2 separate regions of the Homo sapiens genome follow, and region 1 is linked to region 2. The links are contacts of gene promoters, found by promoter capture Hi-C in human tissues and cell types (Jung and others, 2019). All regions are on one chromosome and are shown on one strand. Each heading gives the region's core, a stretch centred on a gene start or on the middle of the fragment in contact. The rest is flanking DNA. Distances are from core to core; before and after follow the strand shown. Region 1 has its middle 60 kb from the start of DLGAP1. Region 2 holds the start of DLGAP1 (DLG associated protein 1).

The links. The method cuts DNA at HindIII sites, captures the fragments that hold promoters and counts their contacts. A contact is called where the count stands out against the background at its distance.
Region 1: a contact is called between a fragment that was not itself captured here and the fragment with the promoter of DLGAP1 in region 2, in 2 of the 25 tissues and cell types used here (H1 embryonic stem cells and heart left ventricle).

What each region holds. Positions count from the first base shown.
Region 1 is chr18:4,511,627-4,518,652 of GRCh38, forward strand. No RefSeq gene overlaps it. Among named protein-coding and RNA genes, the nearest start is that of DLGAP1, 60 kb to the left of the region's middle. The HindIII fragment of the contact is 4,730 bases long and covers 1,529-6,258 here.
Region 2 is chr18:4,451,516-4,458,266 of GRCh38, forward strand. DLGAP1 (DLG associated protein 1) reads right to left here and starts at 3,792. Exons shown (of 13, transcript NM_004746.4): 1 at 3,491-3,792. RefSeq lists a silencer at 3,812-3,941. The HindIII fragment of the contact is 8,504 bases long and covers 1-5,186 here.

The DNA of each region.
Region 1 (7,026 bases), core at 2,644-5,143, 60 kb after region 2:
GGCTTCCCTGCTCCATGCACATCCCATCTTCATTTCAAACCCTCCCGACTACCCTGTGCACACCCCGCCCCTCCCCCAGCATCTGTATCCCTAGCATCTCTCCAAATGCCCACTTTTCAAGGAGTCTAGCTCAAGTCCAGGGGAAGCAGGTGGCCTTGCTCAAGAATAGGGGACTCCTAAAGGCAGAGGTTCGGCATCGCAGTGGAAAACACGCCTTGGAGAATTTTTCTCTGGTGTTTCTTTGAAAGTGCAGGTGATGAAGTGGCCATTACCTTTTATTACCAATACAATTTTTCCCATAGTGATTTGAGATTACAGTTTATCATGTACTCAATTTCCATGTGTATTGGGATCTGTTGCTAGCTGTTTTGCTTTCATCATCATTCTATCTGTTCTTCTACCACAATCAAATTTTTAAGTTAGAGTTTTAAGGTTATATTTCAGTATCTGGAAGGGCTACTACCATTCATTTTTCTTTTTCAGGATTTTCTTTCTTCTTCTTCTTCTTTCTTTGAGATGGAGTCTTGCTCTGTTGCCCAGGCTGGAGTGCAGTGGTGCAATCTTGGCCCACTGCAACCTCCGCCTCCCGGGTTCAAGCGATTCTCCTGCCTCAGCTTTCCGAGTAGCTGGGATTACAGGCACACATCACCACTCCCGGCTAATTCGTGCATTTTTATTTTTTATTTATTTTATTATTATTATTATTATTATTATTTTAGTTTTATTATTTTTTAGTAGAGACAGAGTTTCACCATGTTGGTCAGGCTGGTCTCAAACTCCTGATCTTAAGTGATCCGCCCGCCTTGGCCTCCCAAAGTGCTGGGATTACAGGCATGAGCCACTGCGCCCGGCCCTTTTTCAGGATTTTAATTGTTATTCTTGAATGTTTATTTCTTCTTTAAAAACTTTAACATCGAATTGTGACGTTCCTAGAAGAATTTTTTTTTTTGTTTGCGTTTAAATCTACCTTGAGGTTAATTGGCATCAGTATGATTTTGTGTAGCTCGAGACAAAGAGAACAGCTATATTCTTTTTGATGGGTTCTATTTTATGTCTTTTAAGAGTGTTTTAAGATTTTCTTTCTATAAGTTGAGCAATTTTTGTAATTTTTTTCCTAAGCATTCTATTCTGTTGTCATTAAAAATGGAATGTTCTCTTAGTTAAGCTGAGCTCATACTAGAATAAAAAATGGAATATTCTCTTCCATTCTATTTTTAACATGTTATGGTTAGTATGTATAAAGACTGTGATTTTTATACTTTTTTATATTTAGTGAATTGTGTCACTGTGTTTTACATAAATAATTTTATATTATCAGTAAATAGAGATAGGTTTACATGTCGTTTTCTAGTATTGTCCCTCAATTATTTTTCTTTTGTCTGATTACATTGGCTCATGCCTCCAAACCAATGTCAAATTACAGTAAGGATATAGATGTCTTTATTTTTTTCCTGATCTTAGTGGAAATGCCTTTAATGTTTCCATATCAAGTAAGATGCTGCTTTACTTTTTGAGTGTTTTTCTTTAGAATGCTTGTGGAACTATCGAAGGCCTTTTAAACATCCATAAAGATAATCATGTTGCATTTTTTTCCATTTACGTGTATTGATATGATAAATTAATCCATTTTGAAATATTGAACTATCCTTCACTTCATAAATTCCTTTTGGTTGTGGTGTCATTTTTAATGAGATATTAAATTTTTCTTGTACATTTTTTGTGTTTTATAAACCATATTCAATATTGACATTTTCTGAATGTCTTCTTTGTATGCCTTAGGAGAAATGTTTGATTTTTCACTTTAATTTGATAATGAGGTAAGTTATATTATAGTAACTATTTTTCTAATTCTGAATACTTTTAAATTTCTAGAATAAGTTAGATTTGATAATAATACAGTATTTTTATACTCACTGATAAATTCAAATTAGCTAATAGTTCATTCAGTATTTTTGGATCTACACTCACTTTTTAAAAATAATGGCTTCCTGGTATTTGCATCAAGTTTGCATTATTATTTTGTAATTAATTGAGTGGCTTTTTCTCTTACTATATTTTCTATAATAATTTCCTTTTAGTTCTTTTTAAAGTTTGGACTGTGTGTGTATGAGTATGGGTAAGGTATGAGAGTGCATAATTTGAGTGAAAAGAAAGAAATTTGGTTACATTTGGAATTAGCTTAATGCTTGGATATTGATTAAGGTTTCTTATTTCTTCTTGAATTAGTTGGAGTAATTTACTTTTCCTCTAGGGAATGATCTATTTCATCTGAAAATGTTAAATATATTGAAATAGTAAATATTCATAATTTTTCTTACTTTTAAAAATCTCTACATGTTATTTTCTCTTCTTTTATTGTAATAATATTTATTGTGACATTGTCTTTTCGGTTATGAGTTTTTGCAATTATTCCTTAGACTTTTAAAAAAAGGTATTTTGTTTTATTTTCTACACTAATTTTAGTTAGAAACTTAGCTTAATTACCAAATCTAATGGCTAATGCTAGGAATTGATTTTTCTTAACCTATCAGTGTCAATTGACTGGTTAAAACGCTTTCTTCATTTGGCTTCTGGAACATTACCTTTTCTTGATTTCCCTCTTACTTCACTTGTTACTGTTGTTTAGTCTCCTTCATTGGATCATTTTTATTTCCATGTAGTATGATGCCCCTAGGTTTAGTTTTGAACCTCCTCTCATCATATACATTCATCATCTTCTCCAGATCATCTCATTCATTCCTGTGTTGATAAATATCTCCTATATGCTTGTGAGTCCCACATGTACTTATACCTGTTTCCTGAGATTCAGACCCATATCCATCTCCTTACTTGACATATTCATTTGAATGTCTATGAAGCATCTGTGTAATAACATGTTTAAAAAATCACTAAAATTTCCCCTTCTCCCCCAGCTTACCCCATCTCAGGATAGTATAAATTCATTATTTTAGTTACTGGGCCACAGTCTATGGAGTTATCTTGAGTCCTCCCTATCTGTGAAACTCCACTTCCATTTCTTAGCAGGTTCTGTTGACAGTTTCTTTAAAATATATCTAGAATATGACTACTTGTCACTTGTGTCACTACCATTCTGAGTCCAGGCACTGTAGTTTCTTGACTGGCATTCCCAGAACCTAGAAAAATATCTGGATTAGAATATATGTTCATGAATGTATGTGAAGAGTTAAAGAATGTAGTTCTATTTGACTATAACATTCTAGGGCCTAAAGATACTTCACCAATAACATTAATGTTATTTTGTTTATATATGATAATAAGAATACCTGAGAAGCTTAAGTATTGCCCAAAATTATATTCCCATGGTGCCATCTTGTTCTCTTTATTGATTTTAATAGGGTGAATATGGTATTTCGGTATAGAATACATTTATCTTTAGATTTATTGCCTTTTCAAGCACATCATAAATTTTTAAAATTGGATCACCTTTTCTTGGATAGAGAACCAATATTCAATATAATTCAGTTCAATTCATTTCAATATATTTATTGATTTTTCTACTTTGCATAGCAATGTCCCAAATACTGCCAAATACTGTGGTGGATAAAAAATGAGTAAAACACAGTCTACATATCTGAGGGCTTACAACCTAGTCATAGTCCAACCAGAATATACATTTGTTAAAAGATAGAGAAATGGTACCAGAAATGAATAGTGAGAAATCTGGAAAAGCCTAATGAATTAGCCAAAATTTATATGAGGGTTTTGTGGGTCATATTGTGTCCCCCAGAAAGATATGTTAAAGGCTTAAACTCTGCTACCCCTGAGTGTGATCTTACTTGGAAGAGGGATCTTTGCAGATGTAATCAAATTAAGATGAGCTCATGTTTCATTAAAATGTGTCTGAATCCAACATTACTGGTGTCCTTATCAGGAGAGAACACCATGATCAGGAGAGAACACCATGATGCAGACACAGACACACAGGGGAGCACATCATGGAGGGTGGAGGCATAGATTAGAATGATGTATCTATAAGCAAAGGTGTATAAAAGATTTGCAGAACCTAAGGGACAGATTCTTCCTCAGGGGGAACCAACCCTGCAACAAAAACAACAATTTCTGTTATTTTCTAAGCCACACAATTTGTAATACTTTGCTTATGTCAGCCCAAGGAAAATAATACAAATTTTATTACCAGGAGTGGGATGCTGCTGTAATAAATGCTTAAAAAATGTGATAGTAGCTCTGGAATTGGATAATGGATAGCAGCAGGAAGAATTTTATGGTATATGTTAGAAAAACTTAGCCTTAAAGAGATCGTTGGTAGAAATACAAATGTTAAAGGCAATTTTGGTGAATGCTCAGAAATGACAAAGCTTCTTTTATCTTAGAGAGTACATATGTCAACATGAACAGAATGTTGCTAGAAATATGAACGTTAAAGGCGATTCTTGCAAGGCATCAGATGGAAACAAGGAAAGCAGAGCAAAGATGATCCTCATTATAAGATGGTAGAGACTTGGCTAATTGTCTTCTGCTGTTGGGTGTAAAATATAACTTTAGATGATGAACTTGGATATATTGCTGAGATTTCCAAGCAATGTGTGAAAGATGTGACCTTGTTTCTTCTTGCCACATACAGTAAAATGCAAAAGAAAATAAATTGACAAACTCTTAAGCAAAAAGAAACCAGAGCTTGATTATTTGAAAATTTTCAATCTCTCCATGTAACTTGCTCTGGAAACAGGGCCAATGAATTTCTGTAAAATATTTTGGTGGGCCGGGCACGGTGGCTCACACCTGTAATCCCAGCACTTTGGGAGGCCGAGACAGGTGGATCATGAGGTCAGGAGATCGAGACCATCCTGGCTAACATGGTGAAACCCTGTCTCTACTAAAAATACAAAAAATTAGTCAGGCATAGCGGCAGGTGCCTGTAGTCCCAGCTACTTGGGAGGCTGAGGCAGGAGAATGGCATGAACCCGGGAGGCGGACCTTGCAATAAGCCGAGATCGTGCCACTGCACTCCAGCCTGGGCGATAGAGCGAGATTCCATCTCAAAACAAAAATAAAACAAAACAAACAAACAAACAAAATATATATATATATATGAAGAGATTAGGCATGTGACTCACAGATCCAATTAGTCATCTCAACAAAGACACTTCCAGATTGGACTAAGAGGAGAAGAGACACACACATGGAGAGGAAAATGCCATGTGAAGACACAGAGGGCAGACAGGCATGACATCATAGAGATTGGAGTTACGCAGATGCAGATTGGAGTTATGCAGATCTAACACCAAGAATTGCTGGCAACCGCAGAAGCTAGGAGAGAGAGGATGGCCCTCCTGACACCTTGATTTTGGACCTATTGACTTCAGAACTGAAAGAATTTAAGTTTATATTGTTTCAAGCCACTTAGTTTGTGGTAATTTTTATGGCATCCCTAGGAAATGAATACAGGGAGTTTGGTGGTTATGAAGAACTCTGACTCCTTTAGAAGAATAGATTTAGACTCTAAGCCACTAGAGAAAAGTCAAAACACATGCATATTCAGGTAGTAACCAGACTATAATCTCACAGGACAAAATTTAAAAGGAACAGAATCTAGAGAAAGTTTGATACTATTCCTTCAGTATTGTGTGAGAAAAGGACAATGGTGAAAAATACATTTTACATTTCAATTTACATGTTTCACAAAATAACTCTTACCACACCATGATGCATTCTGATTCGTCTGTTCCATTCTATTTTCTTTTGTGTCATAAAAGAAGGCTGACCATGACTAACCAAGGTGATTTCAAGATCAGTCATGAAAAGCATTGTGTGTAAAAACACTCTAGCTCTAGCACTGCCTAACTTCCTTGCACTATTATCAAAGTCAAAAGTAGTCCGCATTTAGCTGGCATAAACTTGGATGCGTTCTCTTAAATTATGTTTTATTACTGATTTCTGCTCTTATTGTTATAGTCATTTAATAGAAAAAAATTGAGAACTACTCATCAAATGGTACATAAGGCACAGTGCCTTCTATGAATAATTTGACATATGTTAATCTACTATTTTCTTGTTCATTACATAAAGAGAACAAGGAGATTTTTCAATCTGTCCAAGTGTTTGTGAATAAATGTTATCATCTTGACTAAACTTTCCAATGTGGTAAAATAGATAAAGCAATAGATAATCTTGTGTTGATGTCATGTATTCTTGGTGAAGATTCAGGTCTTGCTTATTGGGAGAGACAGGGTAATAAAACCACTCAATTAGAGAGAAATTTCCTTGTCTTTAAGAATGTAGCGATTGACAGTGGCAGGACACTGGTAGTAATCCACTCATTAGCTATGGATGTTGCCATGGACACCAGTGCAGTACCGCAAATCATGAGTGGGAGAAAAAGAAAATTATGAGAACCAAGAATAGTTTCTCTACATGAAGTATATATTTCAGAGAGACAATCATTTACTTATGATTTTTTAACTGAGCTTTTCCTTTGTTTCAGACTCTGCTGATCTTCTTTAATGTCAAAGGCTCTCCTGTTAGAAATAGAAAAGAAAGAGTCTGATTTAAACAGTATTGCTGTTGTGTCCTATTTTGATCTTTTGTTTGGTCAGTCTGTAAAAACTTTTAATGCTTACAAAAGGAATTAGAAAATACATGGGCTGTCCTTGATAAACAATCTTCTGACTGATTTGCCCATTTAATACTACAAGTAACATTTGTTGTGGTAGAAATACTAATACTGCAACCTTGCTCCTAAAGAAATTATTTCAACTGGTCAGTCAGTTCTACTTTCAAATATTTCATTCATTCATTCATTCATTCACTCATGTTTACATTTTCATTTATTTCATAGATTGTGATATGAAGTGATAAAGTTCTGAAATAAATGTATATAATGTATTTTCACTATCATTGTAGTCACAAATTTGTTGTTGTATTTGGAAATACTGATGGGGATATTTTTACGTTTTTGTTCTGGACATGATGTATGTATGCAATGCAAAATAAGACCATTGAGCACTTCCTCATAAGGAAAAATCGCAACAGCGGTAGAAAAGGCCA
Region 2 (6,751 bases), core at 2,542-5,041:
TCTGTGGTAATGCAATGTTTTAGATCTTCCTAGGAACAGCATCTTTGGCAATTCCTGATAGACCACACAACTAGAGAAAGTCACCTTCATCGGGCAGTAACAAGAATCGAGCTACAAATTCTCATGCTTCGGAAAAAAGAAAGAAAAAACATCTTTTGAGGGACACTGTAGTTATTCCTCTCTGAAAATAGAGAACTAGTAGCACTTAGGATCTTAGGAAATAAAACAGCTCAAGATATGGGATGTTTTTGAACATTCAGGTGTTTCAACAACAACATAAAGATTTTTCTACAATGCTAGCAAAGTATCTTTTTGTGATAGTGTTTCTTTAAAATAAAAAAAATGTACAAAAGACCAACATACCACAGACATAGGCATAGATTATAACTATGAGAAGTGAGGATTGGGGAAACGTGTTTAGGTTTTTCAAGAGTCTTTTTAGCCTTCTTATTTCAATGGTGTTCCTGTACCAGGGGAAATATAATTACCAATGGAAAAAGAGAAAATAAACAAAATAACCTAAAATTGTATCATTTTCTTAATTTAAGAAAAGAGAGGTAAGTGTGATTTCTATAGAGATGAAATCTACATAAAAGTAGATTTTAATTGGATGCTTCCTGAGAGGAAACCAATTTCCTCTCCTCTGATAAACAGTGGAGCAATTTGTGGGAATGGTCATGAAGGTAACATGAATTTGAGCTGATCATAGAAATTTCACTATAGAAATACACATTAGATAACATTTTACTATTATCTCTGAATTTGAAATATTACGAGATCAGAATCAAAACACTGAATTCTTTGTTTCTGAAAGAGTTGATGTTCAAAGAATATGGTATTCATCTCGATTAAGTTGTAGATGAAACTATTACTTTGCTGCATATTAGTGAATATTGCTCATATTCACTAAAATGAGTACTTTGTAAAACAAGTCCCCCTCTTCCAAGTTTTAATTTTATATTTAAAAAAAATCAATCTAAATGGCTATATGGAACAAAGGCACACATATTTAATAGAGTTAACTCAAAGTGCATGCAGTTTCTATTCCCAAATTGGGTTGAATAGGACACTTAAGCTTAGAAGGATTTAAAAAGTAGAACACTACAATTAGTTTTAGGCTATTTCTCTATATGCGCTACATAATATTTTGGAAGGAAGGTCTTGTCTCCATTTGCTTTCACTAATCGCTAATATGCTTTTACTGGGTTTTTAGTCCTGGCAGAACAAAGCTTATGTTGATGGAGAAATTAAAGATGCTAAACCATGAAAATTCCCTCCTAGGGAAAACTCATATACTCATTATTTCCCCAAAGCACAATTGCTTGTGTGAGATTTAAGAAGCCTTGTCAGAAAATTATTTTGACATATTTAAAAGAATGTTAACCAGTTCCTTTTGCCCATATTTATATTGCCTGTAATGTTTGAGATAAAGTATTGTATTTGCAGACTAATCTTAGAATGAAATATAGAGAAATAGATAGCTATAAATTTAAAAAAATCTATGTATGCAAGTACATTCTTCTTTACTCACACAAGGTAACTAACATTTTCTCTTAAGTAAATTAGTTTTTTAAAAATTCACAGAATTTTATATCTGCGACTAGGGGTATTGCAAGGCACTAACCAACTGAAACAACTTTACATTTAAGTACTAAATCTAAAGGAAATTAAGAACAGGGCTACTGACACCTGACTTCTATGAACTTTCTTGTTTCATGCCAGAGTATGAATTTTCTGAACCAAGGGTAGCGTTTATAACTTAAACTTTTTAAAATCATACATTTTGCATAGACATATTCATTATTTCTTTATAGGCTTGAATTTCCTTTTAAAAACTTAAAGAAAACTTTATATTCTTCTGGCATGAAATAAATTAGGATCTTGTAAAATTTCTTGCCTCCATGTCATTTCCGTTCAAGTTTTATTCAAGGAATAAAAAGTATTGCTTTATATGCAAAATGACCTAGGCCAATAGAAAGTCGTTTCCTGAACTGAAATCGTGCTATAAATAACAGTCAAAGGGCTGTTCTTTTTAGAACAGCTCTTTCAGGGTAAAAAATAATTTGCAGGATGTTTGCCTTAGGACCTAAAATCGCTTTCCTAGTTCTCAGCATTTCTCATCTCCATGTCTAACCACATCTTAGACTGATCTATCCTCACCTTCTACGAAGCCATTCACGAAGACCACAAAAGCTAAAAGATCTGTCTTTAATTGGTACTTTTATTATATGTCTTTCCTCGTAATTCCCTAACTTCACGTGTTATGGAAGGAGGCAGGGAGCATTCACCTCCCACGACCGGGAGTCAGTCTCTGTGTCAGGAGTAAGGAGTGAAGAGTCTCGCCTGGATCCACAAAAGACGTGACATCTCCCACCCAGCGTCCCACTGCTTGCCGCCTGGCTACCTTTAACCCCTTGCCCTCCGCACATCCTCCCCTTCTCTAGCAGAAAATTCCGCAGCGCTACGGTCGGGCTGGAGGCAAGCCCTGCAGCCGGGGGCGAGCGCGGCACTCGGACACAGGCACTCAGTGTCTCCGGCGCCGGCAGCCGAGCCACGGGCCACCCCTTCCCACGGCCTCCCGGTGCCACCCAGCGAGGCCGGGACAGCGCGCCTTCCGCAAAAAGCGCAGCAGCCGAAGTCCTGAAAGCAGGGTCTTCATCGCCGCGGGCCCTCCGAAGGTGCCTCTCCCAGCTGCAGCCGCCCCTCAATGAAAGTGCAATGTGTTATCTCGCCCAGCCCAGAGGAGAGGTCCCTGTTTGGCCTTGGTTCCAGCCCGGCTCATTCAATTCGCTGAATGTCGGGTCTCCCGGCCCGCCCCGCGATTCTCCGGGAATTGGCCTTGGCCGCGGGCAGGGGGCGACTCTCCAGTGACCTCCTCCTTGGACCCCATTTCTCTCTCTCTCTCTCTCTCTGTGCCTGTCTTTGTGTCTCTGTTTCTTTGGCTTTCTCTTACAAACGCACGGGGGAGTTGGTCCTTTTCCACAATGCCAAAATGTCACCCAAAAAGCTAGTGCAACAACTTGCTTTGCAAACGACCCAGGAGCCTGCCGAGAAAGCCCTGCGGGGAGCAGCCCCCTCCTCCCCTGCAAGGTGCATCGGGGGTGGGGTGGGGGTGCGAATTTGACCGGTGGACATGACCGGGACAGGGGACCGGTGTTCTCCTCCCCTCCCCCTTCCGGGACCCTGTCGCAATTAGAAATCCTTCCCCTGCCTGGGTCCCCGTGGGGAGCCGCGAGGACCGCATGGCCGGAGAGGACGCGCTCGCCCCCGAGATCCCAGGTTACCCGGAGGGCCCGGGAGTGCACCCCGGGCGGCTGAAAGGGTAAGGAGCGCGGACTCTCGAGCCAGCGGCCGGGGGAGCCCAGCCCGCAGCCCCTCCGCGGGCGAGGGAAGCGGCGACCGCGCGGCAGGCAGCAGCCAGGAGCCACCCAGCGCGCCGCGACCGCCGCCGCCGCGCACGCCCCAGCCCCGCGGCGCAGCCCGGCGTTACCTGGCCGCGTCCCGCAGTCCGGCCCTCGCTGGCTGCGTCCGTCCGTTGGTCCCACGAGCCTCGGAGGAAGGAGAGAGATGTCCCCGCGACCAGGACCGGCTCTCAGCGAGGTGACGGGAAGGACTCGAGAGAGGAGCCGAGGCGGCGGCGGCCGTTCGCGCCGCCTATGCTGCCGATTCCCCGAGGCGGAAGGTGTCCGCGAGGCCGTGTCCTGGAGATTGCGGCGCCCGAAGCGCAGCGCTCGCCTCTGGAGCGGAGGCTGAGCGCCGGGACGCGGCGGGCTGGGGCTGCAAGGCTGGGCTGGTGACCCGCCCCTGGGTGCATGTTAATACGGTGGGGAGGAGGAGTCCCGCGCTTCCTCCGCCCAACCACCGGAGCCGGCGGGCGGGCGGCGGCCGCGGCCCGGAGCCAGCCGCTCCCACCCGCCCCAGCTACTACGGCGCGGCGCGACCGCGGGCTCCGGCCCCAGCCCAGGCACGTGCGCCCAGGCCGCGGGGAGGCGCCGGCGCCTCCCGGAACGCGCTCCTGGCCTGCGAGTGCTGCCCGCTCAGTCTCCGGGTGGGAAGTGCGCTCGCCCCGGACCGAGGGGAAAGCCCAACATCCCCGGGATGGAACAGAGAGGCGGCCACCCGTGAGTGGGCGTGACCCATTGGTTCCCTTGCGCAGCATCTGTGGAGAATTAAGCTTTCCCCTCCTCTCTTGCCAGCCGTTGTTCCTAATCTTGTCTTTTTTAAGGGAGGAAAGCAGGAGAACTCATGACACTTTGTATCACAGGAAATCAAGTTGGTGGACAGAGGGTTTGCTGACCTCTCCCGTCCCTCCTCAGGGTCCCTAGGAGAATTTTTGAAGAAGTAATCGGCAGCAAGGAGATGGGGGCAATAGAGAGTCTCAGACTCGCAGGGACCCATGTTCGTCCCCAGCGCCACTACTTTCAAACCGTTATCCCTCAGAGCTGTTTCCTCACCTCCACAACAACTCTCCCGGGTTCGATGACACTATATATCCCACCAGTTCATCTTGGTACAGGCCAAAAGGTAATTCAAAAAGCGAAACGAATCTCATCTCCTGACCTGTGCCCTCGGTAAAGTCCCCAGGTTCCACCCCAAGTACACTTGGAAGCCAGGCCCCTCCACACAGGCTGAGCACCACGCTTCCACAAACTGAAAACAGAGAGAATCCACTTGGTTTCAAAGTTAGAATAGGGATAGCGGCGTGAGTGGGTGAATTGCGATGTGGGTCAAGGAGAGAAAAAAGTAAATCAATTAAGTATTTATTGAGCTCCTGCGCTGCCCACTTAATTGCAAACGTTACAGTAGTTAAAATAATCGTGGTTAATCACTGCCTTATTATTTCCTTCTATTAAAAAAAGAAATGGCATCTTCATGGAGAATGTCCTTTGTTCTACAGCTTCCTGAGGGAATATTATGCCAAAAAGTACATAATCTTTATGTAATTTTATCCAGAAGTTATAGCATAAGATTTAGCATCTGTTTTGTGTGATGTCTAATTATAAATATTAATAGAATATCCTTTTAAAGACAACACTTCTAAAAATGCAAGGAAGTGAAAAACAGTTTTCATAAAAATATGACTCAGATAAATAACCTCTTTCCTGCAATTTCACTGAGTGATTTTCCATTAAAGAAAATAACAATTACTGAAACCACTAAATGGAGGTAAATTCTCAGCATTGTAATATCATGAGCACCGACGCTTTAGCAATGATCTAAAAGATATTCTCAGACAATTCAAGAATTACTATAGGGGCCCAGCTCAGTGGCTCACACCTCTAATCCTGGCACTTTGGGAGGCCGAGATGGGCAGATCACTTGAGGTCAGGAGTTCAAGACCAGCCTGGCCAACATGGTGAAAACCCATCTCTACTAAAAATTCAAAAGTTAGCTGGGTTGGTGGTGGGCGCCTGTAATCCCAGCTACTCTGGAGGCTGAGACATAAGAATCACTTGAACCCGGGAGGTGGAGATTGCAGTGAGCCGAGATCACACCACTGCACTCCAGCCGGGGTGACAGAGCGAGACTCTCAAAAAAAAAAAAAAAAAAGAATTATTATAGGGACACTTCAAATCGGATTCCCTGAAAAGGCAAAATACTGATATGTGATAATAGCCTTCATAATTTGGAAAATTTGCCTTTCCAGATTTGTAAATATGTTTAATTAATAGATTTTCTTTTCTAATTTTTAAATTGATATATCACAGTTGCACATATTTTGCAGGTAGATACAATAATTTGGTATATATATACAATGCATAATGATCAAATCAGGGTAATTGGGATATCCCTCACCTCATTTATCTTTTCTTCGTATTGGGAACATTAGAATTCTTCTCTTCTAGCTATTTTGAAATATACAATAAATTAAACTATATAGTTCCTCTGCTGTACTATTGAATACTAGAGCTTAATCCTGGTATCTAACCACGTTTAATCCATAGATTCTTCCAATGACATCACATAAATAAGAAGGTCAGTATCATTGTCAGGCCCTAACTCAAATTAGATGAATTCAGTGAATAAAATTACTTGAAGTGGAAAATCAATTTTCTTACAAAATTGTTATGGTAGATTTAACCCAGCAACAATAATATCGATGTAACATTGCTATTATTAGGTTTTTCTGACTGTAGGTGACAGAAACCAAAGTTGGCTAACTTAAGTGAAAATAATTTATTAGAAAAATATTGAAAGCTTCCAGAATTAAAGAGAGGACTGGAAAGCAGTCTTGGAAACAGTCAGGATTTGAGGCAATACCGATGGGCTAGGAAGCAGGAAAGACAGCAGTTTGGTTTGGTGCTGCACAGTCTACTTGAGAAAATACCAAATTTTTCTCACCTTCCATTACTGAATCAAGATTCAAAATCACAGGGTTGAGTATTTATTTGCTTGGCCAAACTTCATGGAGGCACTGACTCCCTGGCTATATATACCAGGACAGGAAGAAGAAACGTTTGATTTCTCGACTTTCAGGATGGAGGGTGGGCACCTGGATTTATGACACTTCCACAAGAATACATAATTGAAGATAGGTAATTCCTCAAAATAAAATCAGAGAGTGATGAATAAGGAGGATTTGATGCTGAGATTTTTTAAAAATGATATACATCTGGTACTTTGGCCATGAAATTTATATTCTAATTCTTATAGTTACTTGAAAACAAACAATGATATTGTGTAAGGAAAACTGATAGCACTTCTTTTCGTTGTTGTTATTCGTATGCTTGTTTTTAGTTAAGAGATTTTT